5 separate regions of the Homo sapiens genome follow, and regions 1, 2, 3 and 4 are each linked to region 5. The links are contacts of gene promoters, found by promoter capture Hi-C in blood cells and fetal thymus (Javierre and others, 2016). All regions are on one chromosome and are shown on one strand. The core of a region is centred on a gene start or on the middle of the fragment in contact, and the rest is flanking DNA. Distances in the headings are between cores, read along the strand shown. Region 1 overlaps CD247 (CD247 molecule). Region 2 overlaps POU2F1 (POU class 2 homeobox 1). Region 3 overlaps POU2F1 (POU class 2 homeobox 1). Region 4 overlaps CD247 (CD247 molecule). Region 5 holds the start of GPA33-AS1 (GPA33 antisense RNA 1).

Region 1 (5,472 bases), core at 305-2,804, 440 kb before region 5:
AAGCTTGAAGGACATTTTGCTCTAAGTGAGATGGAGGTCAAGGACTTGGAGCAGAAAAGATACATGATTATATGTTTTGGCAGGATCATTCTAGCAGCTGGGCAAGGAACATGCTGAGGGGGAATAAGGGCAGAAGTAGGCATTACTTAGTGATGTTTGTTCAAGAAACATCTGTTGCGCTCCTATATGCCAAGCACTGCGTAGGTGATAAGGATTAAACGGGAGCACACTCTTCTTCCCTCTGGTAGGTTACTGTAACAACTACTCCCACCTCTGTCATTTATGAGTATTTACCCAGTCCCAAGCTCTGGGGTGAGCACACCCGTCCATTATTGCATTTATTCCTCTCAGCAAACTGTAAGGTAACAACCTCAGGATATCCTCATTTTACAGTTGAAGAAACTGAGGCTTAGAGAGGTTATGTAACATATCGTAGACCACATAGATACTAGGTAGACAGCCAAGATTTAAACCCAGGACTGTCTCACTCCAAAGCCTGCAATACTAACCACAATGCTGTTGCTGGAAACTTTTTCTTACGCTGGACTTTGAAAGTTCACCTAAGACAGCATGAGAAGTGATGGTATCTTCCAGGCAGCCACCTGGGCCACCAGCCCTCCCCTCCTTGGGATCTGCCTTCCCACTTTGTCTGAATTGAGGGTCCAACACTGCTCCTCGGACACAAGGTCCAGGTGGGGAGAGAACAGAGTCCAGCCCAGCCAAGGCAAGTCACCTGGGCTCTCTGGAACCCGGACTGCTTTGCTGTAGAGTAAAGTCCTGGAATAGGTCTCTAACCCTCTTTCCAGCTCTGAAATCCAAGGCGTATGTGATCTGAGGTAATAATTGTCTTGCCTCTCATGCTTGGTTTTTGATGAGACCTTCACATTCTTTAATAAACATTTATCTGTATCCAGGAATTATAGGAGATACAAAATGCCGAGGAATGCACTACTCATGATCTTTTTTGATCCTTTTAACAATCCAGAGACATGGGCTGTGTAAAGCCACAGTGCAAAATACAATTAGGAAAACACAGCAATAAGACCACTGTAGCTTTGAATGGTGCTGTTCACTAATTATTACCTCCCCACCCATTTTCTCATCTGACCCTCACAGCAGCCCCATGAGGTCGACAGGGTGAGGACATTATCCCCATATCACAGATGGGAAAACTGCAGCCCAGGGAGCTATGCGATTTCTCCCGAGGTCCTCCTCACACTAGTGTAGTGGAGCCGCTATGTTTATTGACCCCAAATCCAAGTCAACCCAACAGTCTCTAGAACGTTCCAATTACCTGGCCAGTCCTCACTTAGATAACATCGGACTCTTTCAGAAAAGATTAAACAAATCCTCTATTTGTTGACAGAGGTTTTGCTGAACTGGCCCTGGGGATCCGAATTGATCATGGCCATCAACACAGGCAGCAAAGACCCTTCAGAAGTGTTTTATTCACTAGCCACCTCCATCCCCCAACCCTCCATCGTCTAAAGTGTCTCCTGACTCAGTTCTGTCCCCCTGCTTGTCCTCTTCTCCTATTAGCTCTGGGTACCCAGTCCAGATCATAGCCCCAAGCTCTGTCATCATTTTGCAGCCTCCAGCCTCCCCCACCCAACTCAGCAGAGCCCTGAGAAGAAAGTCCTGGGTCCCGGAGGCTGCACCTGCAGACACAACAGATTCTGCAATGGTGAGAGCATATAGGGTATTTTGGGTCTCCAGTGGGGTTTTTGCTGATTCTGTGCCTGACCAGGGCACATGCTTCCTGGAATTAATAATTCTAGATAAAGAAGCCTAGCAGATGCCCACCTATGGAAAATGCTTCTTAAACAAGAAGAATCTCAGAATTAGGAGGCCAGCTTCTTGTTCTCAGCACTGCCCCTAACTAGCTGTGGGGCCTCGGACACGTCACTTGATGCCTCTGGTCCTGTTTTCTTCTGTACATTATGGAGGATTTGGACAGAGATGATCAGTAAGGTCCCTTCTAGCCAGACTGTCAAGGTTCAAATCCTAGCTCTGCCACATTCCAGCTGTGTGATCTTGGACAAGTTACTTTATCTTTCCTAAGCCTCAGTATCCCCAACTATAAAATGGGCACAATAGCACCTATCTCATATGGCTGTTGTGAGGACCCAAAGATACAATGAATGTCAGCCCTCAGCACAGGGCCTGGCACAGAGACAGTACTCAGCTAAGTAACTGTTTCTAAGTTGTTTATGATTTGAAGCTAAGGATAGAGATGCTTATTCTGAGAAGCAGAAAGGAACAGATGGAGAAGGAAAAAGGAAGATGGGACAAAAGGAGAAAAACTGGCCAGGTGCGGTGGCTCACACCTGTAATCCTAGCACTTTGGGAGGCCGAGGCTGGCGGATTGCCTGAAGTCAGGAGTTCGAGACCAGCCTGGGTAATATGGTGAAGCCCTGTCTCTACTAAAAATGCAAAACTTAGCTGGGCATAGTGGTGGACACCTGTAATCCCAACTACTCAGGAGGCTGAGGCAGGAGAATAGCTTGAACCCAGGAGGTGGCAGTTGCAGTGAGCCGAGATCGCACCACTGCACTCCAGCCTGGGCGACAGAGTGACACTCCATCTCAAAAAAAAAAAAAAAAAAAAAAAGGAGAAAAATTAGGGAAAATAGGGCAAAATTGGGGGTGGAGAAAGGCAGGAAAAATTTGAGGGCAGCAACTGCAATAACTTCAACAGAAAAGTAGAACAATAAGCATACAGCCCCAAAATACTCAGCCCCTTTCCTGCCTCCCCTTCCTCTCTGCCCCTAGCAGACGCCATGATAGCTCCTGGAATGATGCCTTTTATAACTGTGGGGCATGTTCCTCCAGGCTGACACCTTCTGGGGGGGCCCCTGAACACAGCATGGGCTCAGCCTTCCTCCCACACACCTACCCTGGTAGGCATCCCTTTGAGATGGATCTGAGTGGTTTCCCACCTCCTTCTAGGGGTGAACTGTCAGTTCAAGAAGGAGGTTTAGGGGGATGGGATGTCCCCTACCTGGGGCTAATGGGGGCTTGGGAGGTGGCTTACGAATCGAAGCCGAAGACAGCAGCCTACGTGACCAGAAAGGAAAATTCCCCTCCCTGCTAGTTAAGAAGCTTCACAGAAGCTCACCAGACTGTTGTTTTCTTTCTTTCTTCTTTTTTTCCTTTGTGCACACATAAGCGTCTAAATTTTGCAAACTGTTGCCTACCTTTGTCTCTGAGAGCAGTGGAAAATATTGGACTAACAAAAATAAGCAACAGCCAGTGGGAGAATAATAGAGAGGCAAGGTCTCCTGGTCTAGTTGGCGCCGCAGGGGTTAAGCCTTTCTGTCGGTGAAACAGGCTAACAGCACCCCCTGAGCCTGCTGACCTCTTCCGGCTCTCCTGGTCCTTCACACATGTCAACTGTGAGCACGCTCCAATACTGACAAGACTGTCTTACACCTGAGGCAATTTTCATAGCACAGGCTGCTAATTTTTCCTCCAGGTTTTTTGTTTGTTTGTTTTTTTGCCTGGTAAAATACACATAACATAAAATTTACCCTCTTAGCCATGTTTAAGCGCACAGTTGAGTGATGTCAAGTACATTCATATTGTTGCGCAACCATCACCACCATCCGTCTCTAGAATTCTTTTCATTTTGCGAAACTGAAACTCTGTACCCATGAAACCATAACTCCCCATTCCCGCCTCCTCCCAGCCCCTGACAACCACTATTCTACTTTTTGTCTCTATGATTTTAACTACTTTAAGTAACTCATATAAGTGAAATCATACCATATTTGTCTTTCTGTGTCTGGCTTATTTCACTTAGCCTAATGCCCTCAACTTTCATCCATGTGGTAGCATGTGTCTGAATTTCCTTCCTTTTCAAGGCCAAATAATATTCCACTGTATGCATCTGCCGCATTTTGCTCATCCATCCATCTGTCAATGAGTGCTTGGTTGCGTCCACCTTTTAGTGATTGTGAACAGTGCTGCTATAAACATGGGTGCACAAATATCTCTTAAAGACCCTGCTTTCAATTCTTTTGGGTATAGAACCAGAAGTAGAATTGCTAGACCATATGATAGTTCTATTTTTTTTTTTTTTGAGATGGAGTTTCGCTCTTGTTGCCCAGGCTGGAGTGCAATGGCATGATCTTGGCTCACTGCAACCTCCCTTCCTGGCTTCAAGCAATTCTCTTGCCTCAGCCTCCCGAGTAGCTGGGATTACAGGCATGGGCCACCATGTCCGGCTAATTTTGTATTTTTAGTAGAGACAGGGTTTCTCCATGTTGGTCAGGCTGGTCTCGAACTCCCGACCTCAGGTGATCCACTCGCCTTGGCCTCCCAAAGTGCTGGGATTACAGGCATGAGCCACTGCGCCCGGCCAGTAGTTCTATTTTTAACTTTCTGAGGAACCACCAAACCGTTTTCCACAACAGCTGTACCATTTTACCTTTCCGCCCACAGTGCACGGCATTCCTTCTCCACATCCTCACCAACACTTGTGATTTTCTGTTTTTTAAACAAGTAGCCATTCCAACGAGTAAAGGGTGATATAAATTTTTTAAGAGGCAAGACGTGCCAAAACTAGGATTTCAAAAATTGTAAATATAGAATAAAATAGACTATTTTAAATGTGACAAATTAACAAATTAATTTTAGCCTGCTTATATGAGTTCTTTCAAAGATAATTTCTTTTTATTTATTATTATTATTATTATTTATTATTATTTTGAGACAGAGTCTTGCTCTGTCAACCCAGACTGGAATGTAGTGGTGTGATCTCAGCTCACTGCAATCTCGGCCTCCCATGTTCAAACAGTTCTCCTGCCCATGTTCAAACGATTCTCCTGCTTCAGCGTCCTGAGTAGCTGGAATTATAGGCACCCACCACCCCACCAGGCTAATTTTTGTATTTTTAGTAGAGACGAAGGCTGGTCTCGAATTCCTGACCTCAAGTGATCTGCCCGTCTCAGCCTCCCAAAGGGCTGGGATTACAGGCGTGAGTCACTGTACCCGACCTTCAAAAATAATTTTTTTTTCTTTTTTGAGACGGAGACTCGCTCTTGTTGCCCAGGCTGGAGTGCAGTGGCGCGATCTCGGCTCGCTGCAACCTCCGCCTCGCAGGTTCAAGGGATTCTCCTGCCTCAGCCTCCGGAGTAGCTGGGACTACAGGCGTGCGCCACCAAGCCCAGCTAATTTTTGTATTTTTAGTAGAGATGGGGTTTCACCATGTTGGCCAGGATGGTCTCAAACTCCTGACCTCGTGATCCACCCAACTCGGCCTCCCAAAGTGCTGGGCTTACAGGCGTGAGCCACCGCGCCCGGCCTCAAATATAATTTCTAAAGGAAGAAAGAGATAGAGAGGGGAAGATAGAAAGAATGAGAGAAGAAAAATTAAGAAAGATGAGGTCAGATGACGGGGAAGGTGGAGAAGCTTTGCAGGCAGAGTCTGGAATACTGCTTTTGGAAATGTGAGGCCAGGCCCCGTGCCTTC
Region 2 (5,507 bases), core at 970-3,469, 370 kb before region 5:
CGAGGGCTTGTGCTAGACCAAGTTTCAAGGTCAGCTGACATATATACAGGCTGTGTGACCTGGATGGCTGGTTTGAAAAGTGAGTTGATCCAATTCTGTCAAGAATATGTCATTCTGGGCATGGTGGCTCATGCCTGTAATCCCAGCATTTTGTGAGGCTGAGGCAGGAGAATCCTTTGAGCCCAGGAGTTTGAGACCAGCCTGGGCAACACAGGAGGACCCCGTCTCTACAAAAAAATACAGCTGGGCATGGCGGCATGTGCCTGTGTTCCTCGCTACTTGGGATGCTGAAGCTAGAGGATCGCTTGAGCACAGGAGGTCAAGGCTGCAGTGAGCCGAAATCCAGCCTGGGTAACAGAAGGAGACCCTATCTCAAAATATATATATATATATATAATTTTTTTATAACATGTCTAAAGAGGCAAAAAGAAAAGCTGGCAGTGGGCAGTGAGCTATGGTGCTAGAGCTAAACTGAGGTGTGGGCCACATCAGGCTACGTGCAAGGTAACCACACAGACAGCAAGCTGGGGGAGAACTGAGATATGCTCACAGAAGCAGGGCTGAGAAACCAGTTTCTGAGAGAGCAAAGCCCTGAATCCGAGGGGAGAGCGGCTAGCCCTGGAACTGCCAGGGTTCCTGTCTTTCCTGAGGTCTGGCAATGCCTTCTCCACAGCACAACTGCACTCCCTCCATCCTAAGACACTGTTGGTTACTGATGTATCAACTTATTTCAAGGGCAAAAACACTAAATATCCATTGTAAGATGTAGATCTGTTTCATGGGTTAAAATGTGAAGATATGCTTAGAATCAAGGAAACATGGAATTTTACTTGTATTGAGGAAACACATTATATATAAAGATGGAAGCTTTCAATATTTTTCAAACGTTTATTCAAATGTCACTAAACTCAGAGATAAGATATGAATATTTCTGATCGCTTTTCTTCTTAGAGTATAATTTGAGGTCATTCTTGGAATAAGATCCAAGGTTTCTAGTTTAAAATGTTCCTATAAGCAGAGAAATACTCAAAACTGCAAAGCCTGGCTTGGCAGAGAAAAAATGGCAGATGACCTACTTAGGCTAAGAGGACAACTTCCGGGGTGATTTAAAGCCTTGTCATTTGGCCAACTGTTTAGCCACAGGCCTCAAACTGTCCATGAATAACTTGTGATGTGTTTTGGTTGCTTGGTGCTGGACATTTCAGTTGTTGATCAACAACTACTTTTGTGAACCCATGACTGAGTCCTAACACCGGATTTCCTGTTAACTTCAACCTGGGTCTTTGGAGAGATGTAAGTCCCTCCAAAAACAAAAGAGTAAGGGCATATATTATTCACATCCTGCCATAGGTAATTCAGCTTTGTATACAAACCTGGAAATGGGTTAGAATTTAACAACTTTTTCACAAAGGACTACAGGGTAACAGAATCTCATCAGTTGTTTATCCTCATTCCTTAGGATATGACAAACGAGTTTTGCTTGCTAAGTCTGTGAGCACGACACTATCTCAAAAACAGGATTTCTGTTAAAAACTTGACATTATTTTAAGAAAATAACTACAAACTGAGACATAAGCCATATATCTAAGGAATGGAATGGAAAAATATAAATTCTATGATAAAGGAGCAGGGAGAAAGGGACCCACCATTTGCCTTCCCATTTTGGTCCCTTTCCAGGAGAGCGAGCACATCTTGCGACAACGGCTCTCCACATCATCTAATTCAAGAATGCCTGCCAGATGGCCAGCACGTGATAGACAACTTCCCCAGGTTCTTCAGTAAGCTGAAGCCTTCTCTCTGTGGGGAATTCATTTTAAAATTCAAACTTTACTTTTCATGAAATGAATGAATTGTAGTAAGACACTAAATGCTAAGTGGTATTTATAAGTCTGAAGAAGCTAAGTTGTGCAGCCTCGAACAGGAGGAGGACCAGATGCCAAGTTCAGGGTTACCTTCCTTCGGAGGACCCCCCACCCGGCCCCCACCCAGTGAATGTTCAGGACTTGGCAAGAAATGCTAGAGGGGCAGTGCAGTTTAAACAATACATTTGGAAAAAGTTGAGTTCGGTCCCAGTTCTGCAGTCAAATACACAGTGAGATGGAGCTTTGAAGAGCTCCCTTGCAGGATCAATCATGGGCCTGCGTGTTTGATCACACAAAGTACTTGGGCCTGAGGGAGACTACTGCTACTCAGGGTCCCACGAAACCACACTGAGGGTCTGGGAGGGAGAAATGCAGTGGCCATAGCTCCTCCTGGAGTGCAGGAGGAAGGGTGGAGTGGGGCAGGAACCAGGGTGCTTATGGTGATTCTGGGGTTCCTGAGAGCACTTGGAAAAAACAATTTGGAAGCTGAATTATGCGAAGTCTGAGAATCTGTATGTGAAGCATCCAGAATACCAACACAGCAATTTCAAAGAAACTCCAACAATGTGAAAACACTTGGAAGATGGTTTAATGATGTTTTACAACAGAAATGAACTGTACAGTTACAGTAAGTTTAATATATATATAAAAAATTACAGCAGACAAATGCATCTACACAAAATCTACCACTTCATTCTGATTCACTGTCACCTACACAATCTTTCCCAAGCCTACAGCCCCTGCAGGCAGCCCTAGGAGGGGGAATCATCTAAAGGGCACTTTTGAGAGAGACAGCACCGCTCATATTCCCCGCCACCTCCTCAGGCTTCAGGAGGCATCAGCTAATTCCCCAAAATGTAAAGTTGCCTGTGTTTCAGGTTTTCAAAACCAAGAAAACGTGTGTCTCCCAGGGGCACAGATAACAAGGTCCAGCACGCAAGTTATCAGCTGATTCTTAGAAAATATTCCTATCAGAGGGGAAATATTTGGCTAACAGGCACTCTGGGGCAGTAAGGCTACACAATAGCCACCCAGAGTGCAGAGTTATCTAAGAGAAATGTAGAAGGACTCCCAATAAACCACCTCAGAATTGTCACTGCCTCATTCAAGCTGCTGGACAATTTTGGAAAGAATCATTTACACCACATCTTAAGTTTCCACAAAGAAGAACTCAAACTCACATTTTAAAGTACATAAAACAAAAAGTTCTAGGAGGCCGGGGGCCAATTCCCCTTGTGCCCCTCCTTTGACAACAGTGGACAAACACCCCTGAATTAATAATTAAGACAAAAAAGGAAGAAAAAAAAAGTGAGTTAAGATATTGAAAGAGAGAAAGAAAACATCTTTAGAAAAACACGATCACTGTCTCTTTAAAAGAAAACAAAATCCCAGTTGGGAACAGTAATGAGGAATATGCAATCTAAATTGACACCTGGTGGGAGATTATTATTGAATATTATGTACACTCAGAACTTTTTTCATTTTCTTTTTTATTATGAACACCTAGGCAGTGAAAACTGTTATGTTAATACATACATAGACACACCCAAAACATACAAAAATACTATTATTTCAAACTACTAAGAATAGGACAGTTCAATTATTTTCATGCTATGACTTTAAGAGCATTACACTGAAACAAACAAGAAGTTAAACGACATTTTTTTTTTAATATCCCAGAAATATACCAAAATATACATCTAAGCTTTGGAATTACTGAGGTTAGACTAATGCAAGTGCTGGGTAATCGTACTTAATACACGAGTCTAAGGTTCTGCAGGAAAGAAATTATCTTTGGTATCTGCATCAGGCTAATATTATTAACATTTGGATTTTGCTTTGGGATAGAGCTTGTGTGACCCAAGAACCAAGTACCCCCCTCCCCCAACCAACTGAGATTAAAAAGATCCATGTAAAAAGTTCCTTCATTTGCAATCCCCCCACCCCCCAAGTTAAAAAGTCACAGGCATCTACCTAGCACAAAAGGTTGTGAAGTACAATGCATAGTTGCACAGTGGTGCTGCAAAAAGGAAAGAAAACTACAATAAAGAGAAATGAAAAGCTTGATAATCTTTCTGCATGTTTTCTCACAAACAGGACAGCCACTTCCAAGCAGTTCCAGTACAGGAAAAGAAAAAAAGGCTCAGAAGGGCACCGTGGCGTGCATTCGCCCAGCCCCAGAGGTTAAAGCACCCAGCAGAGCAGCCAATCGTGCGCCAGTGTCTTCAACGTCCCCCACTCTGTGGAGTCCTCGGGCCAGTCCAGCAGCAGCTCCCACCCTCCCTAGGCCCTGTGCTAAGTCCCCATAGTGACCCTGGTTGGTGTAGGGTGGATGATGGTGGTGATGGGGTTTTTTGACTTTTGTTTTGGAAAATCTGAAATGCCAATTTGTTTCAGGGCATGCTCACAAGTTTGTGAGGGCCAAAGCTAGGGGCATGCACCTGTGCTGGACCCTGGAAGGTGGTAAGCAGCTTGCCTGCCCTTTCTGATCCAGTCAGAGGGTCCCCCCGCCCCACCTTCCCTGGCCTCACTCTTCTAAGTGCCAGGACACCACAGACTGGACTGATGCTGAAGACTTCCCTTTTCTTTGGTTCTTTTGTTTGTTTTGAGTTTATACAATCATTAAGAAATCTTTGGTTTTGGCTGGAAATTTGAAAAACAAAACAAAACAAAACAAAACAAAGAAACCACCCTCCCCTGGCTTATAGCAGCAGTATCATGACCTGGCTAAGCTTTTTGTCAGCATTAGGGGTGGGAATTGAAGGTTGGGAACTACATTCAAAGAAAAGGTGAAAGGGCTGGGGATGCAGCTTCTAGAGAGCCCATTGGATATAAGATTGTCAAATAATAATAATAATAATAATAAACTTAAATATTTGGATATTTTTGGTCATGTCAAAGGAAAAAAAGTGAAATGTGTATGCAGCAGTCAGCTTAAAGGAGCCTTTGGTGTCTTCCCTTCTACCCAAAGTCCTGAAAAGAAACAGAACCCTGAGGCCTCAGAGGAGAAGGGGTTGGCCTCTACCCCACCAAGGAAAAGGCAAGTACAGAAGTTGACGTGTGGCCAGCTGTCAGAAACACAGGGTGGGTTAGGGGTGTGGATAGCTGGCCAGCCCCTAAAGGCAGGGTGGCAGGGAAAGCAGATGTTAAGAGACCTGTGAAGACCCCTTGCAACAAAAAGGAATAGAAGATTGCAATTTGCCCTCAGTTTGCAGTAGCTTTTAAGCAGCGACATTCAGAGGCTTTAGGGGGTCCCACCCTAGGCTACAGGTCCCATGATGCTATAGGCCAGAGTTTAACATGACTGAGGAGGGAGGGCAGACTTGGCAACTCTGTAGGATTTCGAGAAAGTTAAAGCAAGTCACTCGGTCACGAGTTAGAAATGAGGTATACAACAGCTCCTGGACTTCTGGTGGGTAGAACAGCCCACGCTTACTCACCTAGCCTTCACTACTACCACAGATGAGGGGATGGAAGTACAGACTTATGCGGGAGGAGAGCGTTTCCTGCGGAGTGAGACCTCCTGCGGACTGAGCAATGCACACGTGCCCATGCACGCAGAGGTAAGAAGCTGGAAGTCTTTCTTTCCCCGACCTGACCTTAGGGAAGATACAACATTTATGTTGTCAAAAGCCAATGTTATAA
Region 3 (4,814 bases), core at 281-2,780, 330 kb before region 5:
CACTAGTGGGAGGCACTGCCTGACTGCATCTTAGTTGCTCAGTTGACTCCTCCTGTGAAGAGTAGCCCAGGTGAGCGATTATAAACCAGAATTACAGATAAAGTCTGTGGCTGTGAATTTTTCTTCTTCAAATTTAGATGAGTTATATAAGCCTGACCTTTACCTTATGAGTCAAGGCTTCCTCCAAAGGAACTAACTGTCCCAGAAAACTACAGAATAAGCATTACACAGGCGACAACTGGAGTTAAGTTCCTCTCTTATCCTGTTTCAATGACAATAACAAAGTTCATTTCTATGTCATGCTGACACTGCGTAATTTTCAACCTGACCATTTTGGAGGAGCCAAAACGAGCACCAACCATAGCAGACCCCTATGTAGCTGTACATTTCTCACAGCGAAACTGGTTGACAGTTACAGGTGAGTCTTAACTATCACATTGTTACTTCATCTCCGGGCCTGAAGTAGCCCCATTCTCAAATAATAAAGGACTAAAAATCGCTTGGGTACCTTTAGATGGGGTGGTTACAGATAAGTTACCCCAGCTCCAGAAACCTCAGGCTGGACTGGGCCAGATCTAGAAATGGCAGAGTAGAATTCAGTGAGCAGGAGTCAGGATGAAGCCACAACGGCCCTGCCACCATATGCAGAGAACGGAGGCCAGGAAGAAGTCTCTGGTATAGGCTTTTTTCAAAATCCCAACCTCACTCTTGCATTCAGCATATTCACAAATTCACCATTTAAAAGGGCAAAGTATATGTTTCAGCAACTACAGTCATACAACTGCTACTAATTGCAGTAGCAGTTACTACAGATAGTAGTAGATACAGAACATTCTCATCACTCCCAAAAGTTCCCTTGTTCCCTTTGCAGTTAATCCCCACCATTAGCCCCCCGTCCCTGGCAACCACTAATATGTTTTATGTACCTTAGTTTTGTCTTTTCTAAAATGCCATGTGCATTGAATCATACTGTATGCAGTCTTTTATGTCTTCTTTCATGTAGTATAATGCTTTTGAGATTCACAGGAGATGCATGTATCAGAAGCACGTTTCTTTTTACTGCAAAGTAGCATTCCATCATATGGATATGCTAAAGCTTATGTTACCTAGTCACCAGCTGATGTATATTTAGGTTGTTTCCAGTTTGAGGTGAATAAAGCTGCTAGAAACATTCACATACAAGTCTTTGTGTGGACGTATGCTTTCATTTCTAGGGACAGAACTGCTGGGTCACAAGGTACATGCACATTTAATTTTATAAGAAACTGCCAGCCTGGTGCGGTGGCTCACGCCTGTCATCTCAACACTTTGGGAGGCCAAGACACGCAGATTGCTTGAGCCCAGGGGTTCAAGACCAGCCTAGGCAACATGGCGAAACCCCATCTCTACAAAAAATAGCTGGGCATGGTGATGCACGCCTGTAGTCCCAGCTACTCAGGAGGCTGATGCGGGAGGATTGCTTGAGCTTGGGAGGTCAGGCTGCTAGAGTGGGCTGTGATTGTGCCACTGCACTCCAGCCTGGGTGACAGAGCAAGACCTTGCCTCCCCCTCACCCCCCCAAAAAGAAACTGCCAAAATAATTTCCAAAGTGTGTATACCATTTTGCAACACCACTAAGCAATGTATGAGAACTCTAGTCGCTTTACCTTCTTGCCAACACTTGGTTTTGTCATAGCCTTTTAAATTTTGCTTATTCTAGTGACTGTGTAGTGATATTTCATTTAAATTTTCCTGATCACTAACGGTTTTTGAGCATCTTTTCATATGCCTGCTGGACATTTACATATCATCTTTGGTGACGTATCTCCAATTTTTTTGCTGCCCATTCCTTTAAATCAGATTGTCTTATTATTAACTTGAATGAGTTCTTTAGACATTCTGAACACAAATGTTTTATCAGATATGTTTCATAAATATTTTCTCCCCATCTGTGGTTTTCTTTTCATTCACTTGAGAGAAGCTTTTGATTTTTATGAAATTAAATTTATCCATTATTTTATGGTGCTTTTTGTGTCCTATTTAAGAAATCCTTGCCTAACCCAAGGACACAAAGATTTTTTTCCAAGCTTTTTTCTCTAAGTTTAGGTCTATGACCCATCAAACAAATCTTTGTACATGGTGTGAAATAATAGTCAAGGTTTTTTATTTTTTTTCCCTATTGTTTCAGCTGCATTTTTTGAATGACTTTTTTTTTCCCATTGAAATCCTTTGGCACCTTTGGCAAATCAGTTGGCCATATACATGTGGATCTACTGGACCTTCTATTCTGTTCCACTGATCTCTATTTCTATCCATATGCCAGTATTACACTGTCTTCATTACTTGAGTTTTATAATTATTCTTGACATCAGTAGTCCTTCAATTTTCTTCTCAAAATCGTTTGGTTATTCTGTGTTTTCTACAGTTCTATATAAATGTTAGAAACAGTATGCAAATTTCTACAAAAAAGCCTGCTAGGTATTGGTTGAGACTGTTGAATCTAGAGGTCAATTTGGGAAAAACTGACATTTTAACATTTAACTTAAGTCTTCTGATTCATGAACATATTACTTCTTTCTATTTTATAGGTCTTTAATTTTATGCAGCAATGTTCTATAGTTTTCAACTATAGAACTATTTGTATAGGCCTTACAAATATTTTGTTGTTTACCCCTAAGTACTGTAAATTTCTTTTTCTTAATTTCAATTTCCAAATGCTCACTGCTAGTGTATAGAAATGTAAATGATTTTTATATATTGAGTTTGTATCATACTTGCTAAGCTCACTTATTCCAGTAGCTTTTTTTGGTAGATTCCTTAAGATTTTCTACATAGACAATCATGTCATCTAGCAACTAAGATAGTTTTACTTCTTCCTTTCTAATCTGTATGTCATTTATTAATATTTTATTTTATTGTCTTATTGCATTACTGGCACCTTGAGTATAATGTGGAATAAAAGTGGCAACTGGTCACTTTGCCTTGTTTCTGATCTTAGGGGGAAAGTATTCAGTTTTTCGTGAAGTATGATGTTGGTTTTTTTCTTTTCTTTTTTTTTTCTTAATACATGCTCTTTACCAGGTTAAGAAAGTTACCTTCTATATCTAGTTTGCAAGAGTTCTTATCATAAATGGATGCTGAATTCTGTCAAATCTGGTAATGTGTTAGTATTAAGTGATAACTTCCATACTGCAGACAAAGAAAGTCAGAGCTGGAAGGAGATTCAGGATCAGCCAGTTCAGTCACCTAATTTATAGATGAGAAGACTGAGGTCCAGAGAGATAAAATGACATGTTCAAAGCAACAGCTAGATAAGAAGTGGAATCAGGTCTATAATTTAAACCTTTATATGTCTAAATTTTTTTAATATAATTATAGTGTTTATATGGTCTAGTAGAAATGAGCTAAAGCACCATAAAAGCATTGAGAAAAAAGAAAATATAGAGATCAAAATCTCTTAGCAGTTTCTGAGAAAGGGTAAAGGGTAACAATGGATTTTTAACTGAGGCTCACTAGGTTTCCAGTTTAAGTGGTAATATCTACCGCCAAGTATGGTGAGGGGAGATGTCACATAGCTAGAACTCATTACTCATTTACTGCTAATGCAGTTATTCTTTAAGAACATATAAGAAACAGGAACTCTGAAGATTTTCAAAGACTATATTGATTTGGTAGCATTGAGCTGATAAGCCTAGCTTTGATTTTCTGGTCAGTTTTCGAAGACCGAATTATTTTTATTAGATTTAAAAAAAAAATTAAATAAAGTCCAAAAGTCTCCCCAAACAATATGATAAGAGAAAGCAGCCCCCATAGAAGAAAACTGACCTGGGAGGTGAGGGTGATGCTTGGCTGCGACTGTAGGAGGTTGGCTTGGCTTTGCTGAGGTAGTTGCGTTAGAAGATTTTGCGCTTGCAGGAGACCTGTAGAAGAAAAACATGTTATCCAGAAACATTAAAGATTTCTTCGAACACATGGCAAAAGAAAGAAAGAATCAGAAAATGAGCTGAAAATTTCCAGTTGATCTCTGGTAGTCTTACTGGTATCAAAACTCTTATTTATCTTATTTGCCTTACATTCAATCTTGTTTTACAACTTGGAAGAGAAGATATACAACATTAAATTAAAACTGATATGTCTTTGGCATAATCTGAATAAGCTCTGTGATAGGTCAATCCTTTATTTTAGGAAAGAATGGGATGAAAGTTAAAAAACTATTCTAAATAGAAACAGCTGGAAATTCCAAAAAGAGCTCAACTTCTTAACCTAGAATCCATTAGAAACTGCCAGCGTATGTTGGACCAGAGGAAAAGAAGCATTTTCAAGTTCTCTTTATCAAACATTTGCCTGTTGGTGATAATAAAGTTGAAATGTAAAATATTCTATTAATATCTGCATGAACACTGAACTGTCTTAGTTTCAAATAATTGATAATGTAATGCCACCAATGCTTCATGATGACAAACTGACATTCAAAGTAGAAATACAAACTCTTTGTTTGTAGAAGATGCTCAATTACTTGAATACATGGCTTTTTATTTTCAGAAACTGATAGACAGGACCAACCCAGAATGTCTGTATTTAAGGATTTAATCTTAAATACAGAGTAAAGAGTTTAAGTAAAGAGTTTCAGATAAAATGCTGTTGCTAAAATACTAAATACAAGATTATGTTTGCTGTGATAAGAGCAATGGTAGAAAGTATTCGACAAAGCACACCAAACAAAAGGGATTTTACCATTTTCTTTTGAATATGTGATAAGATTATCTGAGGCAATAGCTTCCTAATTATGATTTCATTAGGTTACTAAATTTGGATATATTAAATGTTGTAATATG
Region 4 (4,792 bases), core at 1,859-4,358, 410 kb before region 5:
ACAACATTAGTTCTAAATTCTAATATTTAAAAAAAAAAAGACGAATGTGGTACAGTATTAAAATGGACTTACATTTAATACACAGAACATCTAGCAGCTTGGATCAGTACAAACTGATTTTTTTTCTAAAGGCTATCAGAGTTAATTGGCAAATAGTCAGAAAACTGTGCAAGGGGGAGGAATTCTTCTGTTTGTGCATTTGTTTGATTTTAGGTACTTCTAAGTGCTGTGATTGGTAGTAATACTGAGATCTGTGCTGAGCCTCGAACTCCAAAGTTGCAACTCAAATCCCTGATAAAGTTAATTAAGTCTGAGTCTTGGGCTCTGCAGCTAGTTGATGCCAGAATAAATCTAACGTGTTGTCAGCAGACTGAACCAGAAGAGCAAAGCTCCAAAGAGGAATTTCTATGCAGTAAATATCACTTAAATTCCTCTCAAAGTTGGAGCTGGTGTCAAAGTCCAGAAAAGCAATATTCCCTGGCAATTGCTGTCAGGAGTGTGTGCATGTGCCTGGCCATGCATCATCTGAACACTCAAATTAGCAGAGGAAAAAGATAGTGAGTTAATATCACCCAGCTGACTGCTCAAAGAACTGCTTTAACTGTAGCCAGAGAAATATGGAGGGGGCATGGCCAGTCATCAATGACCTCCAAATGACTAGATGCTCAGAAGTGTCTGGCAGCCTAGGCTAGATAAATAATTCCTGCTGCTGTGAAATAAATAAATTCCCCCAAATAATTCAGGGAAACCAATTCTTTCACTGCCCAGTTGCTGAGCTACAAGAAACTAGAGCAACACTACAGGTGAAGAAGAAAGAAAGGGGCTGGGTGCGGTGGCTCACGCCTGTAATACCAGAACTTTTGGAGGCCTAGGCAGATGGATCACCTGAGGTCAGGAGTTCAAGACCAGCCTGGCCAACATGGTGAAACCCCGTCTCTACTAAAAATACAAAAAAAATTAGCCAGGCATGATGCCGGGAGCCTGTAATCCAGCTACTCGGGAGGCTGAGGCAGGAGAATCGCTTGAACCTGGGAGGTGGAGGTTGCAGTGAGCTGAGATCACCACTGCACTCCAGCAGCCTGGGCAACTGAACGGGACTCCATCTCAAAAAAAAAAAAAAAAAAGAAAAAGAAAAAAAAAAGGAAGGTGGAAGGCATCTATGAGTGACTTTCTATCTCACTGATCTCCAGTTTATAAGGGACTGGCCACTGGAGGCAGGTTGGCCTAGCAGGGTGGTGGGGAGGGGGCTGGCGCCTTCTCCAACAACTCTGTGTATGAGGCTTGTAAACACATGATTCTCTGTCTGGATAGGTCTCTGAAGGAGAAGAAAGGAGGTGGGGAAGGAAGGAAAGAAATAAATATATGGACAGGAAGATTGAGTATTGGAGGGAGAAGAGAAAAAGCAAGAGATAGTGAAACCAATAAAAAGGAAATAAACGTAAAATGGAGACAGAGGGGAAGAAAGAGCTGGAATAATACTATGTGGCTCTCTAAAAGTTGCTGCAGTTTTTTTTTGTTGTTATTTGTTTTTTGTTTTTGTTTTTGTTTTTTACAGAGCACACACTGCAGATAAATAGTGCGATCTTGGGGCCTTTTCGGTAACTGTACTTCTATTCTTCTTTCCCTTTGCTTTTGTCTAATTAAAAGTGTCTGCCTTTAAAACAGAGACAATTGAAGTTTCAAGTTAGTGTTGTCATCTTCTGTCCCCAGGCATTTCAGAGCTAGAAAAACTACAGGCAAAATTCTCTGTAGATCCTTTTTGTACCCCTCTTCTTCTACTCACCCTGTTTCCCCAGCTTTCTACTTTTAGAATAGGAGTGGGGGCTGAGAAAGATAAAAATAGCTTTTGAGAATTCAAGTTATTTGGGCCCCTGTTTTGGGAGCCAGCATCCTTGTCCAAAGCAGAAAGCAGCCAGTCCTGAGTTTGAGGGAAGCTTCTCCCCATGGAGTTTCCTTAGGGGACTATTTCTGAGCCGTTCTTGGAGGAAGCAACCCCTAGAGATGTTCAGAACTGGAACTAAACCCATCTTCCCCTGAAGAAAAACAGGTTTTTAGGAACCCATCACTCAGCAGGGAGCCCTCTGTGTTTGGAGCCAAGTGTTTGGGGAAACAAATAAGCTGCCTTCAATCAGCCTGAGTTGGAAACGCAGGAAAACCGCATCTTCATGCTGGACTCCACTGCAATCCCAAGGTGATTTTAGTTCAAGGAGAGTGGCATCTGCTTGGGGGAAATTAGAAACTTCTTATTTCCATTTATAAATTAGGCTTTACTAAGGAAGAGAACTTAAAAACAGTTTTATTGTTGTCCACTGAAAAGACAATTACTTCCAGCCACAACTGGCACATTCCATGGTAAAACTAGCGCAATCAAACACACAACACTTTCCACCGTAGGGGCTTCTTTTTGAGGCTGTCATTAAAGGCATGTGTCTTATTAGCCAGTGTCAGGATTTCTGGGATGTTTTATTGTCTCGAGTAATGAGAAGGCCATTTCCAGGGCTGTGTGCTTTTTAAGTCAGCAAACAAAACATTAAAAACAAACAAACCTCCTTTTCTTTGTCACCATTTCTCTGACCATCCCCTGTAAATTCGTAGGACACGGTACTCACAGAAAAAGGAAAATTCATTAGCCAAATGAATCGCTGATTTAAATTCAGGCAATAGGTTGACATTATCCTTAATTGAATAGTTTTAGAAAATGAATCTATGTAGATCCAGATCAAATTCTAACCAATCATTACAATGGGGTCTTTTTTCTTGAATGTTCAAAGTTGATTTTCCTCCACAAAATAATAACTCTTTGGTGTCCAAGTAATAAATTAGCACAGTTCAGTTCAAGTTCCCACTAAATTGGAGGCTGAAATGTAGGATCAAGAGAAAGGAGATGCAAGTTACAAACCTAGATTCTAAATATCCCAGCAGACTAACTCCATGAAACCATCTTTTATTTTTTGTGAATAAGTGTATGTGTGTTAGCCTCCCTCTCCCTTTCTCCTTTTAAAAAAAGAAATGATGACTTTTTCAGGTCTCTGCTTCCAGATATGAGGGGCTTTAGGTATTTGAAGTCAGAAGGGAGGCAGGAATGAGCACTGCTAATTGGGTGCATCCTGGTGTGCTAATATAAAGGACAGCCAATGTAATCGTGGGTTTCTGAGTTTGCTGTCTGTACCTGGCCTGCCTGGAGACTAAGAAAGGCTTGCTGGCCCCAGGCCATAGGTCACATTGCAGCCTTGACTGTAATTCCCTGGACAATTCCTGCACCAGAACAGATAGTGTGACCTCCTATGCTAACCAGCCGAGAGCAACCCATGCTCAGTGGCAACGCAGAAAAGCCACAAACAGAACCCAGGAAGGGTTCCTGGGATGGCCCGGCGACTGCCCATCCTCCAGAGAGAGCTGGATCAAGCAAAAGAAGCAGTCCCCAAATTCTTAGGGCCAGGGATGCCAGGTAACCTGGCACCCAAGGCTATCTGAGGAGACAGGCAATGAGGCTATCAAGAGTAAAGATGGAAGAGCAAGCACAGATGATGGAGAAAAAAATAAGGCTGGTGGGAGGGAATTAAGGAGGGAAATGCAAGGAAGAGACAACTGAGAGGAAAACCAGAGGGAAGGAGTGTATCAGTCTGAAGACAGGATGACACAGGAGAAGGGGAGGATGAGGGCCGGAAGGGCTTCAGGCCTGCAGGGAGGGAGGGCAGACTTTTCCAGGGGGTGGGAGAATTGCCCTGGCCCCCTTTTACTGGTCCCATTCTTTGGACATTGTAGAGAGAACTCAGGTGGGGGAAATGGCCCAGCGGCGGGAACCCTGGCACACCTCTCCCAGCAGGGATCGGCCCCCAAAAGGAACAGTTCTCCTCCTTTTCTGGCTTAGACCAGGGCAGGCCCCCTGTGCAGCTCTCTCCCTTGGGTTCTCGTGTATGTAGATACACTTGTTTACACACACAGGCTCCTACACAGGCACATGCAGAGACGCCTAGGTCCCCAACCTGGGTTGTGACTTCTGTGTCGAGGAGAGCCATAGGAGGCACAGCTTTGCCAGAGTTCCTGCCCATTGCTGCGGCCTGTTCCCTAAACCACACTGGTCTGGCTTCATCGCTGGACTCACTGTGTGGCCCACAGAGGCCTCTTCTATGGTCACAGGGCCCCAGTGACATTTTGGGAGGGGCTTCAGGGACGCTGGCTGGTAACCCAAGAGCAACCCTAAATCCCAACTTGGTCCATGTCCTAGAATATCAAAGGAGAATCTTAAACCCTGAGTGGGATGAGGAGCCTCCTAAGCTTGAAGAGAGCCAGGTGGGGAGAGGGCCTGGGCTCCATGCAGGTTGGGCATCAGTTAGCCTGTGACAGTGGCCAAGTCCCATGAGACTTACACCATGCTAAATATTCAGCTTTCCTCCTGTGGGCATCCTATACTCTGTGAATTGGTCAGAACCAATCTTTAATCCAGCATCCTATCAGGCACACCTCCCTCCTGCTGCTGTGTGCCTGAAGAATGCAGAGTGATTTAGATATTCATTGACCTAAAGTGCAACTAAGGTTTGAGGGTGGGGGACACAAAAGGGAGGTTAATACAAGGCATCAAAAATGTACTTTGACTATTTTCTCCTTTTTTTTTTGAGCCTGTCGCCCAGGCTGGAGTGCAGTGGCGTGATCTCGGCTCACTGCAACCTCTGCCTCCCAGGTTCAAGCGATTCTCCTGCCTCAGCCTCCTGAGTAGCTGGGACTACAGGCGCCCACCACCACAGCCGGCTAATTTTTGTATTTCTGGTAAAGATGGGGTTTCACCATATTG
Region 5 (5,044 bases), core at 2,139-4,638:
GCCAGGTGTCAAACCCAGGGTGCCTGACTGAATTCTGAGCACTTCACATTGTGGGCCCTGCCTGGTTTAAGCGTCCTGCAGCCCTGGAGGTGGACATGGGGCTCCGGCCTGAAGAAGCTCAGTGGCAGAGGTTGTGCTTCCCAAGGAGTCCAGACCTCCCATTCCTGGCTGTCTCCACTCCACTGTAGTGCCTCTCTTCACCCTGACTCTTCTTCCCCTGCAGCCTCAGGTCAGCCTGTCTCCCTGAAGAATATCTCCACAGACACATCGGGTTACTACATCTGTACCTCCAGCAATGAGGAGGGGACGCAGTTCTGCAACATCACGGTGGCCGTCAGATCTCGTAAGAGCAGCCTGCGGGGGGAGGGCTGACAAACGCCACAGGATAACTGGTGGGGGTCCAGAAAGTCAGCTGAGACCACCGTGAGGAGGAATAGGGGAACCTCTCTAGGGCCACGCACCTGCAGGTTAGCTGTGGTGACCTAGGCAGGATGACTCTGTCCCAGGCTCCCCTCACTCTGAGGCCAGTCCAGTTCCACTGGTGTTTGGAAGTGGAACCTAGGACTGACTTCTAGGACTCAGAGGCTTTGTCAGTCCCACCTGCCTAGGAACCACTCGGTGGGCGTGGAGGAAGTGCCCAGGGCAGCTGCCGCAGAGTCTGGACCACATCCTTCTGGGGTGAGACACCAAATCTAGCTTAAAGAGCTGGCTGGGCTGACATCTGAGGACTTTTGCAGAGCCAGGGTAGCCCGGAAAGTGTTAAGATGTGAAGTGGACCATATGTCTCTGTCTGCACCTCCATCCTGAAGAATATTCCTGGGCCATGGCTGGTCACATTCCTCCAAGACCATGCCTTTCATGGAGTGTTACCAGAAGCTGGTAGCTGCTGCTCCCCTGGCTGGGAGGAGACCCGGAGCTAGCTTAGAAGCTCGGCAAGTGCAGCTGCTCTGTCCTCTTGCAGCCTCCATGAACGTGGCCCTGTATGTGGGCATCGCGGTGGGCGTGGTTGCAGCCCTCATTATCATTGGCATCATCATCTACTGCTGCTGCTGCCGAGGGAAGGACGACAACACTGAAGACAAGGAGGATGCAAGGCCGTGAGTGTCTGGGCTGGTAGCCTGTTGGAAGGGTCTGGGGAGACTGGAAATATGCTTCCCAATTCCTCACAGCCTCTTCTACTTGCAGCACCCCTTGGGGTATATCACCCCCATTTTGTGCTGATGAAACAATGACCTGTCCAAGCCATAAAATGTGCATTGCAGCCCCAGGACCTGCCTCCCAGTCCTGTGGTTTTCCAGTCTGGGAGCTCAGGGCCGGGCTTCCTGTGGCATGACTAGAGCCAAGTGTGGCCTGGAGCCCCTGTCACGGGGCCAGTTCCTCCTGGGCTGGTAAAGCCAGCCTGTTCCTGTAACCCCCTCAGCTCATGCGTGGAACAAGTCTGTGGCACCTTTACTCTCAGCCCAGCCTTTCAGCCCAGTGTCCTCTGCAGCTGGTGGGTGGGGAGGAGGTCTGGAGGCTGCTCTTCCTGTAATGCACATGAGGCCCAGCTCCCTTGAGGGTCCACCTGAGAGCAAATCCTTCCCCTCTGTCCCCTGCTGCCCTGCAGGAACCGGGAAGCCTATGAGGAGCCACCAGAGCAGCTAAGAGAACTTTCCAGAGAGAGGGAGGAGGAGGATGACTACAGGCAAGAAGAGCAGAGGAGCACTGGGCGTGAATCCCCGGACCACCTCGACCAGTGACAGGCCAGCAGCAGAGGGCGGCGGAGGAAGGGTTAGGGGTTCATTCTCCCGCTTCCTGGCCTCCCTTCTCCTTTCTAAGCCCTGTTCTCCTGTCCCTCCATCCCAGACATTGATGGGGACATTTCTTCCCCAGTGTCAGCTGTGGGGAACATGGCTGGCCTGGTAAGGGGGTCCCTGTGCTGATCCTGCTGACCTCACTGTCCTGTGAAGTAACCCCTCCTGGCTGTGACACCTGGTGCGGGCCTGGCCCTCACTCAAGACCAGGCTGCAGCCTCCACTTCCCTCGTAGTTGGCAGGAGCTCCTGGAAGCACAGCGCTGAGCATGGGGCGCTCCCACTCAGAACTCTCCAGGGAGGCGATGCCAGCCTTGGGGGGTGGGGGCTGTCCTGCTCACCTGTGTGCCCAGCACCTGGAGGGGCACCAGGTGGAGGGTTTGCACTCCACACATCTTTCTTGAATGAATGAAAGAATAAGTGAGTATGCTTGGGCCCTGCATTGGCCTGGCCTCCAGCTCCCACTCCCTTTCCAACCTCACTTCCCGTAGCTGCCAGTATGTTCCAAACCCTCCTGGGAAGGCCACCTCCCACTCCTGCTGCACAGGCCCTGGGGAGCTTTTGCCCACACACTTTCCATCTCTGCCTGTCAATATCGTACCTGTCCCTCCAGGCCCATCTCAAATCACAAGGATTTCTCTAACCCTATCCTAATTGTCCACATACGTGGAAACAATCCTGTTACTCTGTCCCACGTCCAATCATGGGCCACAAGGCACAGTCTTCTGAGCGAGTGCTCTCACTGTATTAGAGCGCCAGCTCCTTGGGGCAGGGCCTGGGCCTCATGGCTTTTGCTTTCCCTGAAGCCCTAGTAGCTGGCGCCCATCCTAGTGGGCACTTAAGCTTAATTGGGGAAACTGCTTTGATTGGTTGTGCCTTCCCTTCTCTGGTCTCCTTGAGATGATCGTAGACACAGGGATGATTCCCACCCAAACCCACGTATTCATTCAGTGAGTTAAACACGAATTGATTTAAAGTGAACACACACAAGGGAGCTTGCTTGCAGATGGTCTGAGTTCTTGTGTCCTGGTAATTCCTCTCCAGGCCAGAATAATTGGCATGTCTCCTCAACCCACATGGGGTTCCTGGTTGTTCCTGCATCCCGATACCTCAGCCCTGGCCCTGCCCAGCCCATTTGGGCTCTGGTTTTCTGGTGGGGCTGTCCTGCTGCCCTCCCACAGCCTCCTTCTGTTTGTCGAGCATTTCTTCTACTCTTGAGAGCTCAGGCAGCGTTAGGGCTGCTTAGGTCTCATGGACCAGTGGCTGGTCTCACCCAACTGCAGTTTACTATTGCTATCTTTTCTGGATGATCAGAAAAATAATTCCATAAATCTATTGTCTACTTGCGATTTTTTAAAAAATGTATATTTTTATATATATTGTTAAATCCTTTGCTTCATTCCAAATGCTTTCAGTAATAATAAAATTGTGGGTGGAAATTCTTATTTCTTTTTTAATGTGGATTTTGTTTGCAGTAAGATAAAGCTTGGGTCTCATGGATCATCTCTACTCACCATAGCACTCTTCTGCTTCCTAGGGGAGGTGAGACAAGGTAACAGATTTGAGAATCCTGGGGTCCCTCTGCTTGTGGCCGCAGTAGGGTCAGGCAGTGCCTCTAGTGGTTGCTGGGAATAGGACAGATTCCTGCCTGCTGGTGGAGGTATATTCCAGGAGTCTGCAGTGTCAGGACACCAGGAGGCCTGGGTGTCGGTCCACGTGCTTGAAGGAAGATGGTGGAGATGCTCTAGCCAGTTCTGCTTCCTATGATGCCCCTTCTGAGAAAGGGGCGGGGCAGTCCTCTTGTTCTGTCACAGAGAACTGTGACGCTTCCTCCTCCAAGGCAACTTCGCTCCGCTGTGGGCTCTTGGCTTTGACATGGACTCTCCTGCGAGATATTCAAGGTCTGTTCTTCAGTGTCCTTTCCTGTGCTCCCTCCTGTCCGAGCACTTGTCACACAGTACTGTGTGCCTATTATACCTGTGTACAGGTCTGTCTCTGCCTCACCCTGTATGATTTGTAAGGATAGGAACTGTAGCTTCTTTATGGCCTGGCATGTGTTGACCCTTGACAAAGGTTTGTTAAATGAATAACATTTGGTATCACAGTATCTTGCCCAAGGACATCTCCTAGCTCTCTAGATACTCTGAGGTGCCTTCCAGTCCTCACGGTGCAAGGTTCCACAAGCATGTTCTTGAGGGAGCCACGGAAGCAGAGGCGGCCACCTTCCCCCAGGTTTGACTTGACTTCTCTCTGCCCCTCAAAGGACTCTGAAGGTTCACCTGCCTTAGCTCCAGGCTTAGGGAAGAAAAGGAGGGAAATCGAGACCCACTGCATTAATTCAACAACAAATATTTTGTGAGCATCTACTACGTGCCAAGCAGTGTGCTGTTTGCAGAGTATATAAAAGTCACTAAGAAACTGTTATTCAGGAGGAGCTAAAATCTAATGGCGGTCACAGACATAGAAACATAATTACATGAGCAAGAGAAGGGGCTACAGGACACAGGAGGGCCTGAGTAACTCAGCCTAAGGGAGTTCAGGAAAGCTTCAGAGAGGAGGTTGCATTTGGGCTGCATCTTGAAGAAGAATGAGGAGTTTTACAAGTGGAAAAGGGCTGGTGCTGACATTTCTTCTGTCCTCCAATGCATGTTTCTATTACTTGGGTGTCAAATCATATTATCACTCAGTAAGACTACAGTTTCCTGCTGAATTTATTTCGGTCCACAGACTCTGGGAATTGGACTGTTGTAGGTTCTTATACAATCAAAATTAGCCCAGCAATGCAGTCTCCTTAGAATGTTAGGCATCCCTTCCCAAATTATGGTTTCCAGCTGCTGGTTCAAAGACTTTATGGTGTTTTAGAAGAGAGACAAATGCTACCCATTAATTGAGGGAAGATTGTGTACTATAAACCCTTATTAGGCACTTCAGACAGTTTTCCATATAATCCCCACTCGCAGTTTCAAATACTTGGGCATATGCCAATGTTAGGTGTTCATGTTATCACCTAAGGAGGGACTCTGGCTGCCCAGAGAGGAATCCATGAACTGATACACAGCTTGGTAAATTAGCCACTCTTCAGGATCTTGTTATTTATTTATTTATTTATTTTTAATTTTACTTTAAGTTCTGGGATACACGTGCAGGACGTGCAGGTTTGTTACATATGTATACATGTGCCATGGTGCACCTATCTACCCGTCATCTAGGTTTTAAGCCCCACATGCATTACATATTTGTCCTAATGCTCTC

Evidence for each region. The method cuts DNA at HindIII sites, captures the fragments that hold promoters and counts their contacts. A CHiCAGO score of 5 or more calls a contact.
Region 1: a contact is called between a fragment that was not itself captured here and the fragment with the promoter of GPA33-AS1 in region 5, in 1 of 17 cell types (neutrophils). The highest score is 5.1, in neutrophils.
Region 2: a fragment that was not itself captured here is called in contact with the fragment with the promoter of GPA33-AS1 in region 5 in 1 of 17 cell types (fetal thymus); the score reaches 6.2 in fetal thymus.
Region 3: a fragment that was not itself captured here is called in contact with the fragment with the promoter of GPA33-AS1 in region 5 in 3 of 17 cell types (naive CD4 T cells, naive B cells and total CD8 T cells); the score reaches 5.7 in naive CD4 T cells.
Region 4: a fragment that was not itself captured here is called in contact with the fragment with the promoter of GPA33-AS1 in region 5 in 1 of 17 cell types (neutrophils); the score reaches 8.2 in neutrophils.

The regions. Positions count from the first base shown.
Region 1 is chr1:167,490,176-167,495,647 of GRCh38, reverse strand. All of the region lies in intron 1 of CD247 (CD247 molecule), which reads left to right. Among named protein-coding and RNA genes, the nearest start is that of CD247, 26 kb to the left of the region's middle. The HindIII fragment of the contact is 3,098 bases long and covers 6-3,103 here.
Region 2 is chr1:167,424,263-167,429,769 of GRCh38, reverse strand. It overlaps POU2F1 (POU class 2 homeobox 1), which reads right to left. Exons shown (of 16, transcript NM_002697.4): 16 at 2,430-5,507. Among named protein-coding and RNA genes, the nearest start is that of CD247, 92 kb to the left of the region's middle. RefSeq lists enhancers at 1-7, 3,580-4,550, 4,551-5,507. The HindIII fragment of the contact is 2,700 bases long and covers 870-3,569 here.
Region 3 is chr1:167,382,942-167,387,755 of GRCh38, reverse strand. POU2F1 (POU class 2 homeobox 1) reads right to left here. Exons shown (of 16, transcript NM_002697.4): 8 at 3,805-3,899. Among named protein-coding and RNA genes, the nearest start is that of CD247, 130 kb to the left of the region's middle. The HindIII fragment of the contact is 864 bases long and covers 1,099-1,962 here.
Region 4 is chr1:167,461,660-167,466,451 of GRCh38, reverse strand. All of the region lies in intron 1 of CD247 (CD247 molecule), which reads left to right. All of the region lies in intron 3 of LOC101928512 (a long non-coding RNA gene), which reads right to left. Among named protein-coding and RNA genes, the nearest start is that of CD247, 54 kb to the left of the region's middle. The HindIII fragment of the contact is 2,344 bases long and covers 1,937-4,280 here.
Region 5 is chr1:167,051,029-167,056,072 of GRCh38, reverse strand. It overlaps GPA33-AS1 (GPA33 antisense RNA 1), which reads right to left and starts at 3,388. Exons shown (of 6, transcript XR_922249.3): 1 at 3,307-3,388. It overlaps GPA33 (glycoprotein A33), which reads left to right. Exons shown (of 7, transcript NM_005814.3): 5 at 224-343; 6 at 962-1,097; 7 at 1,607-3,237. The coding sequence ends at 1,739. The HindIII fragment of the contact is 1,060 bases long and covers 3,280-4,339 here.